4 separate regions of the Homo sapiens genome follow, and regions 2, 3 and 4 are each linked to region 1. The links are contacts of gene promoters, found by promoter capture Hi-C in blood cells and fetal thymus (Javierre and others, 2016). All regions are on one chromosome and are shown on one strand. The core of a region is centred on a gene start or on the middle of the fragment in contact, and the rest is flanking DNA. Distances in the headings are between cores, read along the strand shown. Region 1 holds the start of TBRG1 (transforming growth factor beta regulator 1). Region 2 holds the start of DDX25 (DEAD-box helicase 25). Region 3 holds the start of HYLS1 (HYLS1 centriolar and ciliogenesis associated). Region 4 holds the start of LOC118567325 (a long non-coding RNA gene).

Region 1 (5,908 bases), core at 2,359-4,858:
TGAAACGCAAATCTGGGGTCACCCACTTTAGGCCCCTTCCAATGTTGAAGGGAAGGGATAAATTTGCACGTGAATGGTGAGGGCAATAAGCCAATCCTGGTTTTATATACTTACTGAATGGGCATATGGGGCTTTCGCCCAAAGCCCTGAGTAGCTTTCTAACCTGCCCAGATTAGTGCTTAGGAGCCAAAGGCCTTATACTTTTTAAGGCCTCTTATTTCATCTGTAAGATCAGAAATTTACCAAGCCAGCAGTGTGCTCCAAAGGCCACCTAGCCCATTTCCCTGCCTCTAGGAAAGACTAAATGGAATGCAACCCAGAGAGTTGGGGGAAGGGGGAAGTCTCAGTCTGCTCCCCTTGCATTTAACGAAGTCTAGCTCGAATTTCTCCACCCAAAGTGGCTCTAATACATTTGACATTTGTTTTCTCAAGGGCTCCTAGGGCTCCTTAAGAACCAGATGAGACTCTAAGTACATCTGCAGCTGTGTGTGTCTGTCAGTTAGTACCAGGTCTAACTGTCATTAGTAGGTGAGTCACTGGGGCAACTGATATCATCTCCCCAAAGTACCTTCCAGTTTGTTGTTCTCTTTGCCTTTTTCTTTTTTCTCCTTCTTAGTTTTCTTCCCAAATGGTTCCTCAGCCCCAGTGCTGGGCCCTGAAATAGGCCCAGCTCCCTGTATAGTTCCCACAGAGCTGGCCACACCATAAGTCAGGGGCAAACTGGAACTGTGGGAAGGAGCTGCAGCCTGTACTTCCCCTTCAGTTAGAGCCTGAAGCTGGAGGAGCTTCTTTAGCAAGTACCTGAGATCAGGAAGGAAAGGAGCAGAGAAATGAACTTCCGTATTGTCTCAATTCAGTATTTTACTCAAGTACTGGGAAAAGCCAGAATTATATACAAAGATTACTATACTCATAAAAGAAAGGTTCTTATTAGGCCCTATGAATCATAAAGCCCTGGAGGATAATCAATACTTCAAGAGGCCAAGGATAAGAACTGTAGCTTATCTCTTGCATCTGGACGGTTCCTCTACCTTGATGTTGGACGGTGTTAGGCTTCTGAAAGGCACATTATTTACACATGTATATATACCCATTGTGCTTTGCACAGAATAGTACGTACAGAATAAATATTTGTAGAACGAGAGGCAGTTGCTTTTATCACTTGGCTTTTATAATTGGGCCATAAGATTAAATAATCTTAGTAAGATTATTTATTAGATGTGGCAAGATGGCTTTTTCAGAAAGATGAGTAGAGGAGCTGTCTCATCGCCATGGCCCAACATAACTTGGGTGTGCAGGCACCAATGCCTCAGGCTGTAAGTTTCTCTGTGCTTGATCAAGTGGCCAAGGGGCTGTGCGATACGCATCAATCCCACTGGGAAAAAAAGTCTCCAGAGCAGTAACACCATTATCAATCACCAAATCAATCACCAAAAAGGTGATGCTGAACACAAAATGAAGCCAGCTCACCTTCTTTCTTCTTTTGCTTTAAGAAATTTTTCCTCAAGACGAGCAATTTCATCACAAATAGCAGCATTTTCCTTTAAGTAAAAATGTGAATATAATAACATAAAATGAATAAAAAAATCACATTATTATGCTGGGAAGAGGATCCATATTTCAAACCAAAAAAGCTTGTATTACTGAGAAGAAGGAGCTATTCGACCGTGTGACAAACTATAAATAAATCCATAGATAAAGGTAGTCAGGTTCTACTATGGACAGGGTATAGCTATGTAATTTATTATCCAATCCGGGACATCTTTGAGTGAAAAGGGGGTACTATTAATGCTTATGCCAGAACAATACGGTGAACCAGGACTGTCCTGGGCAAGCCAAGATTAATGGTCACCCTAATTAGTATAGCCTTTGGCAAAGAAAAAGGCATACTGCTTAAATCCTTATATGCTTAAATTAAATACTATAAATATGAAAACTGTCTATTCCCAAGTGCCTCAACTCTTGAAAAACTTACAAAGCCAGTCTAACCCAAATAGAGAAAAACTGGACAGAACAAAATCAAATTTAGTGTGTAAAATTCTTAAACTTCACAATCTACTTATACGAATTCAAGTATTATCTTTTTTCTTTTTTTTTTTTTTTTTTTTGTAAATGATGACTCAATCTATCTCCCAAGCACCAATCCTGAAGGGAATGCTGAATCTGAATGCCCCCATAGGTGGAACTTCAAACTCTCAATGTTCAAAACAACATCGCTTTTTCTTCACAAAATCTTCATTATGTATTTGATGGAACCAATATCCTTGAAATAACATAAATTCCAAGCTTTAGGTACCTTTGACGTATAGGGGATAAAAGAAAGGGAACAGTCAATCAGATGCTAAGTTCTCTTAGTTTTACTTTTCTTGTTTCTCTCCAGTGCAAATAGCAAGCAATACACATAGCAAGTGCTGAATAAGTGCTTTTGGAATGTGTATTCTAATTTCTGAACCTTTCCTTATGCTTCCAAAAATGCTGAGAGACGTTCAAGCTTTTGGTAGAGAGAAGAGATGAACTGTTGACTTGGATGTGGGGGGACATTTGAGGACTCCACCCCTATTTCCAAGCACTGAGGCAAGCCAAACTATTCTAATATAAAGTTATGGCTGGCAAGCTATATTAAGTTTATTCACTCAATAAATCCAGTGCTTCTACAATAAAAGAAAGGAAGAAACACTTGGAACACTCAAAGGTTAGAGGGGGGAAATTACTGACAGTTTCATGTACCTCTTTGGGCAAAGGGTCAGTTATGGGGATTTGAGGTGCTCAGAAAATAGTCTGTGTACTGGAAGTCATAAAACGGAATCAGGTTTATCTAAGTTGGAGTCAGGGCTCTGACACAGTACCCTTGGGCAAATCATCTCTCTGGGCTTCAGTGTTCTCATTTTACAAATAATGCCTAATTCTCAGGGCTGTATCTCGAGAATCAAACACATTTCCTAGAGTCCTGCAGTAACAACGATGACTAAAATTTATTGGTATGTCTTTTACGCACCAAGCACTTTTCTTTACTCATTTAATATTCATTATTCTGCAAGACAGTTACTAGCTCATTTACAGATGAGGACACAGAGAAATTACGTAATTTGTCCAAGGACACAAGGCTAACAAGTAGTAACGTATACGGAAAAGCCAACACTGTATTAATACTGTCACACTGGGAAGGGGGAACAGCTTGGGGAAAGATTTTGTGAGGGAGTCTCCAGGAGGGGACCGGCTGAACGTGGGTCAGACTCACAAACACCGTGGCCTTGGCCGCTTTGCGCAGCCGCAGGTACTTCAGCCGGTACTTCTCATTCTGGCTCTTCTTCGGGAGCTTTTTCATCCTGGCCTTGCTGGACTGCAGCGGAGCCCGCGGCGAGGAAGCGAGGCCGTCCAGCAGGCTCATGGTCCAGCCCCGCTACGGGGGCCCCAGGACGCTGCCGGCATCGGATCCTAAGTCGGGGAGCGGGCGGGAGCGCTGGCTTTGTCTGTTCCGGGCTAGCGGAATCGGGCCTCTAGGAATCTAGCTCTCCGGGACGTTCCCAGGGCTGACCGCAGGGCCAGAGACACCCGCAACCGAACGGGCTCCCGGCGCCTCCCAGCACTTCCGTGTCTGTCTTGGAAGTAAGCCCTTCCCGGAAGTTACGTCCCGGTGTCGGCAGTGTGTAACTTCCGGGGCAGGGAGAGTAGGGTGGTCTGGGCGGTGCGATCGTGGGCACCGGGAGGAAAGAGACAGCTGGGGGCTAGTGCTGGATGAGGAGAGGAGGGAGGGCCGGCGGCCGTGTGCTTAGCTGAAGGGTACTATAGTTGAACCAACGAACTAACAAGAAGCTTACCAATGCGAGCTCTCATTCACGCTCCCCCGCTGGGCCACTGCGTTTTAATACGTTTTTCATGCTTCGTGCAGACAGGCTTTCCCAGACTGTAGGACAAAGTGAGCCCAAGTGCTGGGACTCTGCTTCTTTCCCTGCTTCGTTCCTTTCTGCAGCTCACAGAAATGTGTTTGCAGGGCCTCCTAATGCTATCATCTTCCCAGGAGCTGGGAACACAGTAGTGAACAGGAAGAAAGGCCTTGGCTCTTTCTAGTAGGGAAGATGAGAGATTTAACACGCAGTTTTAATACTAGCACTAAGTAGGCACTCAGTAAATGTTTGTCTAGTGAAACCAGAAGTGTATTTCTGTACATAATATGTACATGTATATGGTTCTAACTTTACAACCAAGGTCTATTTAAAATTAGGGAAGATAGAAAAATCTTTAGGGTGCGGTATTGGTAAGTGACCCAGGCTGGATGGCAGAAGGCTTGCTTGCATCTTCTTCCAGCGATGCCAATAACTAGTTCAGTAACTCTCTAGTTTTTTCTCTCAAAAAAAAAATTTGCTGTTCTGCTGTATTTTGTCCTTGCGGGCTTTGGGGTCTGACTTTATTTGTATTATTTATTTTCATATACATGTATCACATCTAGGGGGAAGAAAAGTGCTATCCTTTGTCCTAGTTTGCAGGCTGTTTTGGCCAATGGACTTTAGTGGGATTTGCATGAAGATATTTTTTGTTTCTTCTTCATTGGACACATTTCCTTACACTTACAAAACATTTCATTCGAACTTTAGAAATTTAGAAAATATAGTACAAGAAAGGTTTAAAAATCCATAATGCTACCACTTGGAATGAACTACTTTTACCATGTTAGTATATGTGTCTAATATTTTATGCATTTTTGTATAGGTTAGACAATACTGAAAATAAAGTTTTCTTTTTGTTCATTTACCATTGTATCATTTCAGTTTCACAAATGTTAGTATAGCTTCCTTATAAGCATAATTTTAAGTGGCTGGTTAATATTCCAGTTATGGCTATATTATATTTTGCATAATTATTTCCATGTTCTTTGACTTTTTGGTCAATTCCATTAAAAGCATATCTTTGCGTCCAAAGCTTTTTCCATATAGGACTGTTCAGAGGCTGGATATGTGTGCTCCACAAAGGTCATGCCACTGAGCAACTCATTCAGTCCTTATTTGTTTAGAAGAATATTTACCTAGTGCCTATTATGATACCACCTTTAAGAACCTTAATTTAAGAAGGAAAGACAGACAAGTAAATTGGCAATGTTAATATGGTATAATAAGTTTGTTTCAGAGGTAGGTTTTATTTTATTTGGCAGCACTCAGGGAAGGAGGGAGGAGATAGGAAAGGTTTCTTAAAGGAGATACATCTGGGCAGACTCTGAAGGAGAGGTAGTGGTTGGTTGGCCCAGTGAAGAACAAAGGGGGGCATGCTGGATGGTGGAGACAGCATATGCAAAGGCTCAGTATGGGAACTGCAAGTAGTTGATCAGTGTGAAAGATGTGTGTAGAGAGAAGCAAGAAGAGAGACTGAAGCAGTAAGTAGGGTTTTTTGGGTCATGAAAAGTCTTGTGTACCAACTGAAGAGTTGGACTTTGACCCAGTGACAATAGGAAACCATCTATCAGCTCTTTGCTTGTGTTAGGTAAACTTACCTGAATCTGTCAGAAGCAACACAACTTTTCTACTTAACTATACGAAGAAGGGTCTAAATGGCCTATGCAAAAATTCTTTAAAGAAATGCATAATGTGTAGCTCTAAAAAGAAATATAAAATGGCAGACAGCATGATATTGTGTCTGAGTGTGGTCTTTGAAGTCAGACCAAAGTTCCATTAACTACAGGCATAGGAATGGGAGTTAGAAGCTAAAATAGGGTAATAAATCAGAAGAGAAAGAAGTTCAATAGCACTTTACTGTCTACCCATTTGTAAGTGCTTGCTATTCAGTGATTAGCTGTAAGGGAAGGCATAGTATCCTCTGGAGTATTAAAAGCATACCTGGCTCCGTTAACAGTTGTGAAGAAGTCCATAGCCCATAATCCCAGCCCCTGGTGAAATGAGTTCCTGGTTTAGATGGTGAA
Region 2 (5,908 bases), core at 3,319-5,818, 1.3 Mb before region 1:
GCAGAATATTCCCCCAAACTCTGTTATTCCATACTCCATAAAAATGGTGGTTGCTGATGAATAAAGATGCTGATGGAAAAAAACGGTAATATCTAATGCACTTATATGTGTCAATTAGGAATCTGTGATAGGGAAACATAGCCAAAGGGCTAAAAATATCTTTCCCACACATTTTTCAAAATGTGCTCCAACATAACTTATCCTACATAATTTTTATTGATAATATCAAACCCTAAACATAAATTTCACTGAACTTGTCTAAAATGCGTAAGATTTCCTATGCCTTACCTATAGCTGACCTGGCTGATCAGAGTGGAAGCTTACTGAGAGAGCCTTGGTATTCCCCACAGCACTTAATGCATATGGGTACTCAGCTTGTCAAGCAAATAGGGAGAGACGACCAGATACTTTTCATGAGTGGAAACTACACTAGGAGAATGGTAAACCGGGTACCAGTGCCAGTCTTGACTCAGCCACTCTCTGGGGACCTCAAGAAAGACACTTCCCTCTCCAAGCATCAGCCTCCTCCTCTGCTAGAGTGAGGTGGACTACCTGACCTTCTGGTCCTGCAGTTAGATGGCTATAATTATTGCATGCTTAATTTATGCCAGGCACTGTGCTAAAAACGTAAATTACTTCATTAAATCCACATGATGACTTTATTCAATGTTTAATGAGTGGTTTCTACAAGCCAGGCACTGTGCTAGGTATTAGGATTTAAGGGTGAACAGATCAACTATGATACATTCCTTTACAGATGCTATCTTTACAGACAAGGATTAACAGACTCAGATTTATTAACTTGCCTAAGACATTCAGTTAGTAAGTGGGAGGCTAGCATTGAAACCACTCAAGACTATAAAGCCTGTCCTCTCCATCACTGTCCCATGCTGCTACCCAATGCTCTATGATTTTATGAAAACATGTCTTTTCTAAATATTTCATCACCATAGTAACCATATCATTGCACAGGAATATCACCTATTACTAAATTAGCACTGGTAGTGCAAGCATTCCCAGTCTTCTCTCAGCCTTCCCTTACCTGTGGGAACAATTCCAAGGCATTAACTCTGCTTAACATTGCCAACACAAATGCCGCTGTCTTTCCTGTTCCAGACTGGCTCTGTGCTATGAGGTTCTGGGGTCTGTAGAAAAGAGAAGACCACTGGGCATAAACTGAATACAAGAGAGTGGGCATAAACTGAAAATAAGAAACTAAACATAACCAAGTAGAATACCACTACCCTGGAAACTCACGGATGTGCCAGCATCATAGGGAGAGCCATCTCTTGGATTTTAGATGGCCTATTAAATCCCATTGCATAGATTCCTTTTAGTAACTCTTCCTTTCTGTCAAAAAAAAAAATCAAACACTTACAGATTATAGTTGGTCAGTAGCATCAGAAATACATACCTGAAAGGTGCATTTCTAAATTAAGTCACTTTGCAGCTGAGCTTTAAAACTAGTATTTGGAGATAGATCATTCATACCTCAACTTCCAAACATAAACAATCATGCCTGTAGAGCTGGACCACTAAAATAATAAGCTACGCCATAAGCCTAGGCGAAGGACAGTGGTAAAGGCCTTAAGTCAAACCTTCTGTTGAACAAAGCAAAAATGGAAAAACTCATCGCATAAAAAGAATATATCTGCTTGCCAAGAGAGTTATATTTTCTGCCTAAGCAGAAAACTAAGTGACATTTACTGTTTTGTTCCTTTTCACGAACGATATTGACATTTTTAACAGTAATTTTCAGAGAAGACAAATTTTTATTTAGGTGATTCTTATATTAGTTCTTTCTAGGAGTAGAAGACACAATATTACTCCATCCTTCTGAGGCAATATTTTAAAATGCAGCTTTCCTGAGGGTCTTAAGAAAAATGCCAGAATGAGGATAAATCAAGTGGACTACAACACTTCAACTTTTTTTTTTTTGAGACGGAGTCTTGCTCTGTCGCCCAGGCTGGAGTGCAGTGGCGCGACCTCAGCTCACTGCAAGCTCCACCTCCCGGGTTCACGCCATTCTCCTGCCTCAGCCTCCCGAGTAGCTAGGACTACAGGCGCCCGCCACCACACCTGGCTAATTTTTTGTATTTTTAGTAGAGACGGGGTTTCACTGTGTTAGCCAGGATGGTCTCGATCTCCTGACCTCGTGATCCGCCCCCCTTGGCCTCCCAAAGTGCTGGGATTACAGGCGTGAGCCACCGCGCCCGGCCAACACTTCAACTTTTAATGACATGCACATTTGTGTGTGCTTAATTGGTAGAGGACTGGTAGCCCATCTTAAATCATGGGTAGGCTTCTTCTACCATTTAGAAAATGTCTGGGAACTAGGATTTTGGATTTTTACCCTTTACATAAGTAGGTTTCAGTGCTTTTCTCGTTCTGTAAAAATACATTTTTTAGCGTCAAATGATAAATCCCTAGGGAATGCAAACCCATTTGGGAAAGTTATTCAGTTTAATATCATTTGAAACAAAATATAATCAGGAAAGTAAAAGTTTGTGACTTATCTATAGTGGGTGAAGGAGGATGTCTGGGTCATCAGAATCTGGGTTCTGATATGGAGAGGGGCAATCTGGCTGTGCCTAGCTTAGCTATCTATCCCCCTGAGCACTGCAGGATGAAAATATCTTACTATCAAAAATGTTCTCAATTTGCCAGGCAACTTGAGTATCCTAATGTTCTTCTTTAGAATATCCTTTTTTTTTTTTTTTTTGAGACGGAGTCTCACTCTGTCACCCAGGCTTGGAGTGCAATGGTGTCTCGGCTCACTGCAACCTCTGCCTCCTGGGTTCAGGCGATTCTCCTACCTCAGCCTCCCGAATAGCTGGGATTACAGGTGCGCGCCACCATGCCCGGCTACTTTTTGTATTTTTAGTGGAGAGGGGGTTTTCCCATGTCGGCCAGGCTGGTCTCAAGCTCCTGACCCTCGGGCGATCTGCCCTCCTCAGCTCCCAAGTGTTGGGATTATAGGAATGAGCCACTGTGCCTGGCCTGAGCTATATTTTGATTGCATGGAAAATGTACAAATCTCACTTTAATACTGAATATTAAAAATTAACTGGGCGTGGTGGTGCATGCCTGTAGTCCCAGCTACTCGGGAGGCTGAGGCAGGAGAATCGCTTGAACCTGTAAGGTAGAGCAGTGAGCCGAGATCGTATCACTGCACTCCAGCCTGGGGGACAGAGTGAGACTCTGTCTCAAATAACAAAAAAAAATATTGAATATCAGAAAACAAAGAGGAGATCCTGATGGTTTTTACTATAAGCAGATGCGTTTGTTCTGTGGTTTTCAGCATTTTTCCCATATTAAAAGAGTAAAAATACTCACAGCCGCAGCTCTTCAAATGTCTTTACTGAGTAAAGTGGAGAGCTGGGATCCTTCTGTAAAACTTCCACACGGTGACTGGATTCTACTAAGGATTGATGGATTAACTTGTTTAAGAGTGAATTAGCTGCCAAATCCACTAGAAAAGCAAAAATAAAAAAGAGGACATCAAGCTTCCTGAATGACATCAAATAAGTTGCTCTTTCTCTTTCAGTGGTTGTATACCAAGCAATTGCACCTACGCTCATTTTTCCTCTAAAAGAGGGTTCCAGAAAGAATGATATAGCACTGAGGATTCGTTCTTTATGAGGATTCAGTTTCTTACGCTCTGTTACTTCACCATCCTCTAACTTCAAAGTAGCCTAAGTCCATCTCCATGAGACCAAATCCTTGACAGATGGAAGTTCTGAACCCAATCCCTGCATATTCCATTTCAACTTCCTTTAAATAAATACACCTTACTCCTAATTTAGTGTGTCTCCTGATAGTCACTATAAGAAAACAGAAGCAAAGACAGGCCTTTTCCAATTGAGATTATATTATTCACTCACACTATTAAAGTTATAAACGGAAACAGAATGCTAGTAGATACATGCAAATGAATTCATCTCCTACCTACATCTTCTTCATCATCTTCATTGATGTTATTAATAGAACCATCTGGAAAGGATGGAAGAGAAACAATACAAGTAAAGACAAATGCTGAGCACAAATGTAAAGCATGCTATTCAATTTTTTCTTCCTGACTCTTCAGTGTCTACTGGCAAGAAGAGTCATTTCATGGAGGAATGGACGAAACGATTGGGAAGGTAATGGAGAGTGCTGAATGTCACACTAATGAATCCGCGGTGTTTCACTTGGCAGGGACGTGATGAAAGCAAAACAATACTTTTTAATCATTGAGGTCGCTCTGCTTTGCCCTAACAGCACTCACCTATGTTTCGGACTGCAGTACTCTTAATACCCCAAAGGTTCTTCCGGGGTTGGCTGAGGTTTGAAAACTATTGAGAGACACAAATTTCAACCAATATTAGGATGCAAGCCCTCAAGCAGCCCAGTGCTTCCCTACCACAGGGGCTGGGAGGGATTCAGGGAAGGACACCCGGGTATTGCTTCCTTTGCAATATTAGGTAGCAGCAGATTCCTTTCAAGGTTGGGTTTCCTGTATGAGTTACCCTAAAATTGGAGATTTTCTGTATTCCCTGTACATGCAGTTTCTCTTTCCTAGGCCTCTAGTTTAGAGTTGGGCAGTACTTGGGGCTCACGGCACCAACAAGGGGAGGGTGGCTAGGAAAGTGCGCTGGCAAATGGATGGAAGCGAGGTGAGGCTTAATGGGCAAATGGGCAGAGTAGAAAACTCGGGGTCTAGCTGGGACTACCAGCTGCGTTCCCACCCTGGATTTCCAGGGGTCGTCATTTTTGCCCTTTCTAACCAAAGGTCTTGCCTCTCGTGGGGGTGGGGACGGGGTCTCCCTCTGTGGCCCTCTTCCAAACCCTTCCCGCATCTCCCCTCCAGCATCTGACGCCCCACTTCGAACGCTCGCGGGCTCTCCCTCCCCTCCCAGCCGATCTCCCTCTGCGAGTGGGAGCTCCACCCCCGCGGCTGTGGCCCCCCGGCTCGGTGGCGGTTACGTGGCTGTTCAGCCGCTCGCTCTCCGCCGCCCCTGCGTCGCCTCCCCACAGTAACGACGCCATGGCTGCGATTGCTGCTCCCGCCCCCAGCACGTGCTTCCACCACCGGCGCGAGGCGGTGCTGGCCCCATCCGCTGGCCAATGGGCTTCCTTAGGGGGCAGGCGTCCGCGTCCGCGCCCGCGACCACCGCGGTGCGGCGCGCAGGCGCTGGAAGGCTGGGTGGCGCGCGGAAGGGGCGGAGGGCAGAGAGCGGGGCGGGGGGCAGAGAGCGGGGCGGAGGGCAGAGAGCGGGGCGGAGGGCAGAGAGCGGGGCGAAAGGGCGCGGACCGGAGGGCAGAGGGGGCAGCTTCCGCAGAGTGGAGAGCGCCCCCCGCGCCGCCCCGCGGCCCGCCGCTCACACAGCCCTCCAGGCGGGAGCCCCCCGGACTCCCCGCCGCGCTTTACGCCCCGTGTCGGTTTCCCTGGAAATTTCCGCCTCCACATCACAAGATGTCAGAAAGGTTAGCGAATTGGTTAGCAAAGTGGAGACAAAATCTGATGAATTTGATATGACGAATGACCTCGAATGCCACAGTTGCGGAAAGGAAGCAGAACTGTTCAAGCTCTAACTGCTGTTCCTGCCCTAGATACCTGTGATGTTCCACATAGGCTTTTTAAAGCTTTTATTCTGAAATGTGGTCTCTTGTTAAAAACATTACCTTTCGGTATAACCTCTACGTCCTACATGCGTTTGCATAATCCGGTATAGATCCCTGGATCCCTGGTACTAATGATTTAATGACCGCTCAATTTGGACGAAAGAACCAAATTCCACCTCCCCCCCGCCCCCCAGTTTTCTAATTGTAATTTTGAGATTTTGATCAGCATTTCTGGAATTGGGGGCAAAAATACAAAAACCCACACGAAACTGCAGTCATGATCTCTCCGTGGTGCTGAAGCAAC
Region 3 (5,908 bases), core at 2,418-4,917, 1.3 Mb before region 1:
TACTGTGTAGAAGCAAAGGAATCAGAAGATCAGGGTCTTAGATCTTAAGTAAAATCCCTTCAAGTCTGGCTAGATTATATTATCCAATCTAGAAGAGTAAGAATTTAGTGACTACATTTTTGGTAGTTGCCATAGAAAAAGTCAAGACAGTCATCACAGGTGGAACAAATGGGAAGCCCCCAAATGCAACTTTGCAAAAGTACTTGCTCTCTTAGACAGCATTTGTACAAATCCGAAGTCTCTGGCCCATGGTAAGGACTAAATAAATGTTGGAATAAAGGAACTATTTAGGTTGTGAAATTTAAATGACACTTTTTATATATTTATACATAAATAACGATTTGTGAGACTCTGGGCTAGGAGGATTTTTGGCAGTAAAGCCAAGAGTTAGTTTTTTTTTTTAATGGCATGTGTCCTACTATACAGTGATTAATGTGTTATTTCCTCTGCATTTCAACTGTGTCACACTCCTATTTTTTTCCTTGAACATATGAAGATGATGTTTGCAAACAATAAATAAAATAGAAACTTTAATAAGGTCCATAGGTAACTGTCAGTTCCTTCTCTTTCTAATATAAAAGATCGAACAATCCTTTCTCTTTAGAGGGAAACTTTCACATAAAAGCTAGAGCAACTTGTATTCTGTAAACACAGACAACATTGACCGAAATACCTAACCATATCTTCTCTTCAAAAGTCTTAGTGACTCAGCATCCTAGGGTTAGCTAGTTACAATCAAAAGGATTTCAAGGGTAGAAGGGGCAAAGACTTCAAAATGAGATAAAGGGACTGGGTCAGTAGACTGCTATAGGGAGGCTATTGCAGAGTTATAACAAATTTCTCCACCTCTGGGGAGGTAAGCAAGCAGCTTAAAGAATCACAGTATTAAAACAAAACAAAACATCCTACCACAAAGGCAAACAATACCATAATGAAGGCAAAAGAGACAACAAACTGGGAGAAATACTTGTAACACGTTTAAAAATCAGTAATTTGAATTCCTCTTAGAAAGCTATTAAAGGGTACACATTATCAGTAAGATAGGGGAGAAAAGACAGATGCCGTACCAAACGAATAATAACTAACAAACAGCTGGGCGCAGTGGCTCATGCCTGTAATTCCAGCACTTTGGAGGCTGAGGTGGGAGGATCGCTTGAGGCTGTGAAGGAGTTCAAGACCAGCCTGTGCAACACAGCAAGACCCCCATCTCTCAAAAAAAAAGAAAAAAGATTAGCTAGGCGTGGTGGCATAAACCTGTAGTCTCAGTACTATGGGGGCTGAAGCAAGAGGACCGCTTGAACCCTGGAGTTTGAGGCTGCACTGAGCTATGATCTGGCCACTGCACTCCAGCCTGGGCACAAAGCCAACGTCTGTTTCTAAACAGCAACAAAAATTAATAAACAGAAAACATGTTCAATTTCAGTAATGTGTATAAAAGCATTAAGACATCATTTCAGATTGATAAGATTTTTTCAGTACCCGGTGCTGGCAAGTGTGTGAAGAAATAAAAACAAGCATCCTTATTATGCCCTGTGTGTTGGGGATAATCCGTTTTTCCAGAGGGCAGTTTGGCATTATTATTATTGTTGTTGTTTTTTGAGACGAGTCTCTCTCTGTCGCCCAGGCTGGAGTTGCGGTGGCCTGATCTCGGCTCACCGCAACCTCTGCCTCTCAGGTTCAAGCGATTCTCCTGCCTCAGCCTCCCGAGTAGCTGGGATCACAGGCACCTGCCACCACGCCCGGCTAATTTTTCTTCTATTTTTAGTAGAGACTTGGTTTCACCATGTTGGCCAGGCTGGTTTCAAACTCCCAATCTCAAGTGATCCGCCCGCCTCCGCCTCCCAAAGTGCTTGGGATTACAGGTGTGAGCCACCGCGCCCGGCCCAGTTTGGCATTTTGAATCAGAATTTAAACTGTACCACAACTTCTAAGTCATAATCCACTTCCAGGAATTTATTCCAAGGACATAAATTGGACAAGAATGCAAACATGTATACATACAAGTGACCACTACCATACCATTTTATGATTATGAAGAGACTGGAAACAAATGTACATTAGTAGGGGACTGGTTAAATAATATATGATACAATACAGCCATAGCAACAAACGCCACGCATCCATTAAAAATGGTAATGCGTATCGACACTGACAGAGAAATGTGTTCCCAATTTATTACTGACTCAATAATGTATAATCTGCTTAACTGACGTTCTTTTAAATTAACATACTTTATTATATTTGTAACATGCAATTATTTAAAACACATTTTATAAGGAAATCACATAAATATAAGGTATATATTATGAATATATCTGAAGTAAACCTAAATGTGAACAGTGTTTGATGGTTATCTGTGACTGATGAAATTTCGAGTATTTTCTTTCTTCTTTACACGTACTAAATGTTGCTCGGATTGCTAAAAACATGTACATACTATGTTTGCATTCTTGTCCGATTTATGTCCTTGGAATAAACTCCTGGAATTGGATTATGACTTAGAAGTTATGGTACTACTTGAATTCTGATTTATGTTTTTCTTTTCTCTTTTTTTTTTTTTTTTTTGAGACAAGAGTCTTGCTCGGTCGCCCAGGCTGGAGTGCAGTGGCGCGATCTCGGCTCACTGCAACCTCTCCCTCCCGGGTTCAAGAGATTCTCCTGTCTCGGCCTCCCGAGGAGCTGGGACTACAGGCGCCCGCCACCAAGCCCGGCCAATTTTTGTATTTTTAGTAGAGACGGGGTTTCACCGTATTGGTCGGGCTGGTCTCGAACTCCTGACCTCACGTGATCCGCCCACCTCGGCCTCCCAAAGTGCTGGGGTAACAGGCGTGAGCCACCGCGCCCGGCCTGAATTCTGATTTATAATGCCAAACTGCCCTCTAGAAAAACAGATTATCCCCAGCACACAGGCCATAAAGGTGCTTGCTTTCATTTCTTCACTCTCTCAGCAGCATGGGGTACTGAAAAATCTTACCAATCTAAAAAGATATCTTAATGTTTTTCTTTGCCTGCTTAGTGAGATTGTATACTGTTTAGAATAAAAAAGATTTATTTCCATTTCGGGGTGGACAAACACCTTGGACGGTTCCATGCTGCAGTCCACAAAAGGTGCAGCTAGAAGGCGACAAGACACGCTCCGCCTTTCAACGGCAAAGCTCGCAGTCGCCCCGCCTGGCCGTGGGCGTGGCTTGGACCCAGGTCGCTAGCGGCCTTCGGGACTCCCCTCCAGCCCTGGGGCCGTCCCCGGCCTCCGCCTGGTCCCAGGGGCGCGGCCCAGGAGCTCAGAAAGGCCACCGGGGCAAAGACCGCGGCGGCGGCCAGCGCACACCGTGACCTCCAGGGGCTGCGGCCCGCCGCGCACATCGCCTGTAGCTCACGCTGCCCCGGCCGCCTCCCTCAGGAACGCAGACGTTGGGGACGGCTCGCCAGGCAGGACCTGGAATCCACGGAGGGAAGCTGCCACTCTGCACCGTCCCGACGGTGGGAAAAGGAGCGAGGGCTCCCGCCGCAGTGGGCCGGCAGCCACCAGGTCCCCGCGTCCCTCCGCTTCCGGCCTTCGCCCGGCTTACCCGCGTCGCGGAAGTCCGCTCTCTGCACCGCGTCCTGCCAGTCGCCAGCAGAGCACCGCAGATTCTGTTAGCTTTCGCGTAACTTGCGCAGGCGCACTGCCGGCCCACGCGCCGAGCCTGCGGTTAACCGCCGACCGCTGAGGTTTAAATCCGGAGAGCGAACCGGCACCCTTGGCCCGGTCCGCCCTCCCTCTTATTGGTCCTGAGGGTAAACGTCCTCCAAGTCTGTATCCTGATTGGCGCACATTTTGTCTGGGCCTTCTCCGCCGGCGGGAGCATGCCCGGGATTTCCAATGTGGCCTTAAAAATATCCGAGCCCGCCTAGCTGAGGCGCGCAGGCAGCAGCCGTTGCTGCGACGCCTCTGGTGTACTAAATCTGGAGGGGAGGTTGGGCCCTCGAAGAGAAGGAGAAGACCCTCAAACCTTGGCTAACGGCGACATAGCTGGCTTTTTGGAGAGGCCGCCTAACGGTCTGCCACTTCATTGGAATCAGCCTCCGCCCTTCTCAACTGGCTGCTGCGGGGCCAGTGGTGCCGGGAGACGAGGGCGGGCGCTCAGGGACGGTTCGAACAGTCTGGGGTGAGTCCGCCTGTGCGCTCTAGACGTTTCCTTGGGGCCTGAGAGAGCGGCTGTATGAAACCCTGGCGCACTGAGCTCTTCCTTTCCTCTGCATGGTGTGCAGGGCCCTGGCGTGACCCGTGGCTGCGTCTCCACAGCTCCTCCCACGTTACTCTAACTGTGCTCCAGCCACCGACTGCCTTGCTCCGACATGCACTTGTTTTCTTTTGGAATGTGCCTGTCTCCTTCACATGGTGTTACTCTCAACTTTTTTTTTTTTTTTTTTTTGAGACGGAGTTTCCCTCTTGTTGCCCAGTTGCCCAGGCTGGAGAGTAGTGGCGCGATCTCAGCTCTCTGTAACCTCTGCCTCCCAGGTTCAAGCGATTCTCCTGCCTCAGCCTCCCGAGCAGCTGGGATTACGGGCGAGCACCACCATGCCCGGCTAATTTTGTATTTTTAGTAGAGATGGGGTTTCACCATGTTAGTCAGGTGATTCTACCCCCTCGGCCTCCCAAAGCTCTGGGATTACAGTTGTGAGCCTCTGTGCCCAGCCACTAATTTTTTTTTTAAACCCGATGTTTTAACTCTTTTTGCATCTGTACCTGTAAAAAAAAAAAAAAAAAAAAAAAAAAAAATCTAGTGCTTGGGGATTGCTGAGGATGAGATCTGTAAAAGCAAGAGGAGAGGCCCTCAGGGTTCAATATCCTAGTCAATACCAAGCAAACCTATCTCAACTGGTCTTGAGTCCTGAGCATTGCATTTTCCACCTTAAACAAATAGGTGCTAGTTGTCAAGTTCATCTTACACCATTTCTTAAATCCAGGATTCAGTGGGAGGGGAGAAATGTTTAATCCTTTTCCTCCAAACACTTCGTATTATCTCTTACTCTCCCTCTTTGCCTCAGGGCCTTTGTGCTACCTCTAAGGCACTTTGAATTTGTGGGAGGAAGAAAATGGAAAGAACAAAGGAGGGAAGATGACAGAAGTAGGTTGTGGAGATTTGAGTGACTGCCCCTACATCTGCAATATCATAACACTCCTTTAGTGCAGCGGTCCCAACCTTTTTGGCACTAGAGACAGGTTTCATGGAAGACAATTTTTCCATGGCTCAGAGAGGGGGTATGGTTTTGGGATGATTCAAGCGCATTACATTTATTGTGCACTTTATTTCTATTATTATATTGTAACATATAATGAAATAATTATGCAACTCACTGTAATGTAGAATCAGTGGGAGCCCTGAGCTTGTTTTTCTGCAACTAGATGGTCCCATCTGGGGGTGATGGGAGACAGTGACAGATCATCAGGCATTAGATTCTCATAAGGAGCATGCAACCTAGATCCCTGGCTTGCGCAGTTCACAATAGGGTTCACGCTCTTGTGAGACTCTAACACCCCTGTTCATGCGACGGAAGGCAGAGCTCAGGCAGTAATGCCAGATGGGGAGTGGCTGTAGAAACAGATGAAGCTCCTACGGCTTACCCCCTGCCTTGCGGCCTGGTTCCTAGGTGCCTGTCCGTGGCCTGGGGGTTGGGGACCTTTGTTTTAGTGCATATATTCTTTTCTTTCCATAGGAGCAAATTTAATATGCTCAGGTTTTATCTTATGCCAGCATGACTTTTTCTTTGGCTTTGAATCTCCAATCTGTCTTAGAAACCAAAGAGTAGATGGAATCATTTTTCTTCCAGCTTTGAACATCAGCATTCTCCTTATGGATCCCCCAGTTCGTTTCTTTTTCTTTTTTTTTTAATTTTTTTTGAGACAGAGTCTCTCTCTGTAGCC
Region 4 (5,908 bases), core at 3,244-5,743, 1.0 Mb before region 1:
ATCACTTAAAATACTAATGGATAACTATAGTATTCCTTGGACTTTGTTATGTCTGCAACATAATACTCAGCTATGTTAGAGAACTGCACATAATAAAATTTAAATGTAGGAATGTGTTTAGCTCTTAGAAAAACAAAGGAAGAATATATTTGTGATGAAATAAACAGGAGGACATTAAATACTGGTAACATTTTATTTCTTTTTTTAAAAGACTCCTAAATATTAAATAGAAACAAAGAATTATATCTTGTATATTAATACAAGATATAAAGAATAACAATGTAATAAACACCCACTCACTTTAGAAAAACAATGCTCTATTTCCTTTGAAATCTTTAAATACTTCCTTAAATACATTCCCTCCCCTACTTTCTTAGACCATTCTGAATTTGGTTTTATTATACCCTTGCTTTTCTGCATGTTTTTTTCTCCATGTTTACATACTTGAACAATATACTAGGTTTTACATATTTTTGAACTTTGTATAAACAGAATCAGACCATATGAATTCTTTTGCAACTGTCTCTTTTTGCTCTACATCATTATATACCTGAAATTCATCCATGTCACTGCTTGTGACATGCTTGTGTCACTGCTTGTGACATGGCTTGAAAAGCCATGCATTTCATAATTTATTGTTGACAGACATTTGGGTTAGTTTCCTGCTATATTAAAAACATCACCACTGTGAGCATTCTTATATACGAATAATGTTGTATTTTTAAACCAGGTGGGTTGATATACATATATTTACATTTCATTATAATACATAAGAATTTTTGTGTACCTGAATTTTTAAAGTTTTAAATAAAAATAAAGATTTTTATGTCATATAAACTCAGTTTAAAGGGGTAAAAAGTAAAATCCATATGCACATAAGAAAAAAGCATGTATAGGCTGGGTACAGCGGCTCACACCTATAATCCCAGCACTCTGGGAGGCCAAGGGAGGCAGATCACTTGAGGCCAGGAGCTCGAGACCAGCCTGGCCAATATGACAAAACCCCATCTCTACTAAAAATATAAAAATGAGCCAGGTGTGGTGACTCAGGCTTGTAATCCCAGCTACTCAGGGGCCTAAGGCACAAGAATCACCTGAACCAGAGAGGTAGAGGTTACAGTGAGCCGAGATCATGTCACTACACTCCAGCCTGGGCAACACAGCAAGACTCTGTTTCAAAAAAAAAAAAAAGCTGACCATTTGTTAAGCACTATTCTAATACTAAGAATAAAGCATTAAACCAGACAAAAACTACTGCCTCATACAGCTGACATTTCTTTTTTGATTCTGACCCTGTAAGCTTAAAGCTTTCGCTATCCATCCTTCTCAATTTGATGACATTCAGAAAATATAACTAAATTTCTTACATTTTTATCCACGTCATACATAAAAAAAGAGTGAACAGGACAAGACTAAGGTCCAGGGTATTCCACAGGAACTTCCCTTTATTAATCCATTAAAGGATTATTTTAAACTATTCTTGGCCAGGCATGGTGGCTCACGTCTATAATCCCAACACTCTGGGAGGCTAAGGCTGGTAAACTGCTTGAGTCCAGGAGTTCAAGACTAGCCTGAGCAACACAGGAAGACTCCACCTCTTCAAAAAATCAAAAATTAGCCAGGCATGGTGGCACCTGCCTGTGGTTGGTCCTAGCTACTCGGGAAGCTGAGATGGTAGGATTGCTTGAGCCTAGGAGGTCAAGGCTGCAGTGAACTGTGATAATACAGTGCACCCCAGACTGGACAACACAGTGAGCCTGTATCAAAAAAAAAAAAATTATTCTTATACATATAGTGAGCTAGGCTTGCACCTAGGTCAGATTTCTCTACCTGATCCGCACTTGTATTGCAAAATGAGACTTGTGATTTCCAAATATACGAAGTCTCCAAAATTTCCTTGATTTTTCAGATCTTGTCTTGAAATTCCAGTAATGCAAAAAGACTTGATTTTGCCTTGTATGGCTATATTAAAATAATTAGGTAATTAAAATAATTTAGGTAATTATTTTATTTTATTTTAGGTAGTGATAAAATGCTAAACTTACCCCTTTCATCCAACAGAAGATTTTCTGGTTTAATATCCCTGTGAGTTATTCCAATACCATGCAGATAAACCTAAGAGGGATGCAGAGAGAAACACACTAGAATTTGGTAATGTAATGTATTCACTCTAATTTTAAGTAAAAGGGAAATAGACAACTATACCTACCACCCCTGCCATGAGTTGATGGAAGAATCTCTGAGCATCTGGTTCAGGCATGCCTATGTCTGGCTCTAAAACAAATATGAAAGTAAGTTTATTGACTAAATATAATCAGGTAGCAACCACATAGCTTCTTAATTTGAAGCTTAGACATTTACAAATGTGCTTAGGCAAACAGAAGCAAATGCCAACAAAAGATTCAGGAGTCCACTAACACATATGGGGCTTAACTCACATTTACCTGTGTTAGGTGGCAAAAGGCGTCATCACAGAAAAATTATAAAGAGAAAACCAATATCCAAATCAAGAATGCAAGCCATGACTTCAAAGCCTCTGCTTCCTCTTATACTAACCCTGATTTATTTAGTAACCTTGAAATTCCCCCCATTTCTTCTAAATGCTATGCTAATTATTTTTCTCATTCCTGAAATATAATGCCAAAGGGGAAGTCTGGGCAAATCTAAGCCAATTTCACTAAATATTTTACAGATTATACTTCTTTTATAATTTAACTTTTTTTAGAGATACGGTCTTGTTCTTTCACCCAGGCTGGAGTGCCCTGGCGTGAGATCATAACTTACTGTAACCTGGAACTCTTGAGCTCAAGCAATCCTCCTGCCTCCTAAGTAGCTAGGATTGCAGGCATGTACCACCACACCTGGCTCAGATTTAAACTTCATATAGTCTCACAGTACAAAACCACAAATGCCTGTGAGGTCCTTCGTGAAACAGTTTTATTATGAAAGTTCTTTTATCAGTTATCTTTTTATATTTTGATCTCTCTCATTAACTCCATTTCTTTTACCCTCAACTCTCTCCTGAGTCACACTGGAGATCCTAATACCTCTTTATCAGTTTTTAACTGATAAACTTATTTAATACAATAGCTTTAAATTATAAATTTAAATTATAAATTTAGATCCAGATTTTATGTACTTCTCAGTGTTCTGAAATATCAATCCTTTGATTCTACATCGAATATTTAAGTATTAATAGCAAACATAGAATTTACTTAATATACAAAAAGCAATCCTAGAAAATTCTCAATTATTTCATGTAAACCAAGAGGAAACAGCATGCTATTTTAGATCTGTAAATGTATAAAATGTATACAATGATTTCATGTAACTAGAATGTCTACAAAGAAAAAATTGTGTAGGCAATACATTGCATTTAGGATACACTGCATTTATGATGTACCATAAAACTTGTTTGTCACTCTTAAATTCTGTAAGACACCAATCTTAAATCAAAATCACTTATATAACTTGGGAAAGAAGTTTTCTTTCATTGACTCTATATATGCTTTTATGTTATTAACACCAGGTGGAAAAATTTTTTAAAGATAATGTATTCCAATTTCACAGTTGCATGAGCAATTTTGAAAGGACAACGACCAAATAGCATGCCCAAGATTTAAAAAACAAATTTAAAAACTTGTTTAAAATAATTATCTTAAATTTCTTCCATACCTATTCTGTCAAAAAGCTCTCCTCCACTACAGTACTCCAGAAATAAATATTGGATATTGCCTTCTCTCCTGTGACCATAGAATTTTACTACATTTTCATGATTTAGCATTTTATTGATACAGATCTCTTTCTTAATATTTTCTGGACAGTCTACGGCACGCTTCATATCTACAATCTTCACTGCGACTGCTTCTTCAGTTACTCTATTCACAGCAAGTTGAACTCTAAAAAGGAAAAGAGTTTTAACATTACAGAATTCCATTTCTTCTAAAACTTCCAAAGATTAAACATGACTCATCCAAAACGATTTTACCTCTATTACTTTTTCCACAAAGGAGAAACCAAGGAAGTGGTTTCTGCTATGTTCTCAACACACACTACTCTTTTCTAAAATGTGAAATACAATAGCTAACCCTCCAAAGACGTCATTATGCTGTCACACAAGTCATTTAATAAACGCTTCATAAAATAGATTGAGATAATTCTAAGCCACATCACATATATACATGTTCTACTCATATACTTTTAAGAGCATTAATCCCATACTATATGTGCTTGTGTAACTGACTGTCCTAAGCTCCTATGGGGTAGATGCGATTATTGCCACCCTAAAGGTAGTGAAGGAGAGGTACACAATGACATTAAGAAGCTTGCCTAAGATCACAAAACAATGACCAGTATGTGATAGAGCAAGGATCTGAAACCAGGCAGGCAATCTCCAGAGTCTGCTCATTTGCTCATTAACCGCAATGCTTAAACCCTGAGAAGCAATTTGTGGGCATGGAAACAATAACTTCGTGTCCCTTCCAGCTCTCTACAAAGAAAACTTTTTTTTTTAAAGGGAAGGAAAAAATTTTTAATCCTAGCAAAAGGCTGTGTAACTTCAGTTGCCAAAACCCTTGGATCTCAAACATCTACTTTCTAAATCACCAGAGTGTGAGACTCCAAAACAATGAATATGCACTCAGAAAACGAAGGCAAGCTTAAAAGAACTCACTCTCCATAGGCACCTTCTCCCAGGGTTTGCACCAAGTCCCAGTCTTCCACAAAGGGCACTGCCATGACTCCACCGAGCACCTCGGCTGTAAAAGGCAGGAATCCAGAAAAGATGTAGAGTGTAAGATCACCAGTGAAGCCACTGAGCCCCGCCTCTCCCCAGGATTGCCCACGAAAATTAACAGCTCTTGCCTTCCCCTTCTATCTCATCCACATTTATCCAAGTCTTTCAACCACGAACAACTATTCTAAACCTGACCATTTTGTCGTGTAAATCACAATCGCCACTCCCAAGCACACCGAAGGTTGAAATTCTGCCCTCCTCAGGCCCCAGAGGAAATTAATTGTTGTTATGAAGAGGTGGGAGACAAATGCTTTCCGGCGAACGACTGGGGAAGGAGGAGGGAGAGGTGGGGGTCTGGGGAAGAGAGGAAGAGGATATAGGGAGCGGTATGGGGCAGAAAACGCCTGCGGCAGCGCCTCCTCCCAATTGCTCAATTCCAATTCCCATCCCCATCCACAGCCCCACCCGTCCCAAAGGCCGGGGCGGGGCCAAACTGCCCCCAGAGGCGAAAGGAAGGGCTGGGACTCTTCCTTGGGGTTCTTAGCTAGCAGCGGGTTAGTCCCTCCTGCCCCCGCCCCCACAACGGGAACCTCCTGGTACCATTCCTCCACCCTCCGAAACCGCCCCTCCGCAGGAGTCTCTCCAATCCCCTGCGCTAGTCAATGCTAACTTTCTCCCACCATGCCCTCCCTCACTAATCTAGACCCCGAACTCCTTCTTTAGAAACCTTCCCTACTCTACCGGCCGCCCTTCCTCACCGGACTGTCCTTTGCCCACCACTGCAGGAATCCAAATGCAGCGCTTTTCCCGCCAAAACTTGAGGGCGTCACGCTGCCGCAAACTCGCGCACCCGCGCCGTAAAGCAAGACAGCGCGCGTTCCCGTGTCCTGCCCCTCTGAATGTCGGCGGCTCCAAAAGGGTGACGTGGAGATGTTGCCGCTCCCGCCCAGGGCTGCTTTGCAGTCGGGGAGAGATCCTGGCTGAAGAGATTTAAGGACGGCGGACCGCATCGGCGCGAATTGAGCTCTGGGCCCAAATATGAAGTGGCATCCGGTGTGAGGCTCGACTGGGCGGTGCTCGAGCGCTGCTGGGGGAAGCCCAGGCCTCCAAGCCTCAGGGGCGCGCGACCGACCGCGCTGCGCTTCCAGGCGGGGCTGCGGGCTTCGCTCCTGG

Evidence for each region. The method cuts DNA at HindIII sites, captures the fragments that hold promoters and counts their contacts. A CHiCAGO score of 5 or more calls a contact.
Region 2: a contact is called between a fragment that was not itself captured here and the fragment with the promoter of TBRG1 in region 1, in 3 of 17 cell types (activated CD4 T cells, fetal thymus and total CD8 T cells). The highest score is 6.9, in activated CD4 T cells.
Region 3: a contact is called between the fragment with the promoter of HYLS1 here and the fragment with the promoter of TBRG1 in region 1, in 5 of 17 cell types (non-activated CD4 T cells, total B cells, fetal thymus and 2 more). The highest score is 9.4, in non-activated CD4 T cells.
Region 4: a contact is called between a fragment that was not itself captured here and the fragment with the promoter of TBRG1 in region 1, in 1 of 17 cell types (fetal thymus). The highest score is 6.6, in fetal thymus.

Annotation. Positions count from the first base shown.
Region 1 is chr11:124,620,564-124,626,471 of GRCh38, reverse strand. TBRG1 (transforming growth factor beta regulator 1) reads right to left here and starts at 3,608. Exons shown (of 9, transcript NM_032811.3): 1 at 3,239-3,608; 2 at 1,471-1,541; 3 at 569-801. The coding sequence starts at 3,388. LOC124902779 (a long non-coding RNA gene) reads left to right here and starts at 3,271. Exons shown (of 2, transcript XR_007062932.1): 1 at 3,271-5,908. RefSeq lists an enhancer at 3,462-3,531. The HindIII fragment of the contact is 1,322 bases long and covers 2,494-3,815 here.
Region 2 is chr11:125,903,638-125,909,545 of GRCh38, reverse strand. It overlaps DDX25 (DEAD-box helicase 25), which reads right to left and starts at 5,038. Exons shown (of 12, transcript NM_013264.5): 1 at 4,966-5,038; 2 at 4,268-4,334; 3 at 3,949-3,993; 4 at 3,337-3,472; 5 at 1,258-1,350; 6 at 1,043-1,145. The coding sequence starts at 5,028. The HindIII fragment of the contact is 2,119 bases long and covers 3,509-5,627 here.
Region 3 is chr11:125,885,427-125,891,334 of GRCh38, reverse strand. HYLS1 (HYLS1 centriolar and ciliogenesis associated) reads right to left here and starts at 3,667. Exons shown (of 3, transcript NM_001134793.2): 1 at 3,570-3,667. RefSeq lists silencers at 3,090-3,479, 3,580-3,629, 3,720-3,769 and an enhancer at 3,910-3,959. The HindIII fragment of the contact is 13,277 bases long and covers 1-5,908 here.
Region 4 is chr11:125,625,598-125,631,505 of GRCh38, reverse strand. It overlaps CHEK1 (checkpoint kinase 1), which reads right to left. Exons shown (of 13, transcript NM_001114122.3): 1 at 5,494-5,908; 2 at 4,673-4,757; 3 at 3,676-3,899; 4 at 2,210-2,274; 5 at 2,046-2,115. The coding sequence starts at 4,737. It overlaps LOC118567325 (a long non-coding RNA gene), which reads left to right and starts at 5,612. Exons shown (of 1, transcript NR_170378.1): 1 at 5,612-5,908. RefSeq lists enhancers at 4,698-4,747, 4,308-4,851, 5,668-5,908. The HindIII fragment of the contact is 333 bases long and covers 4,327-4,659 here.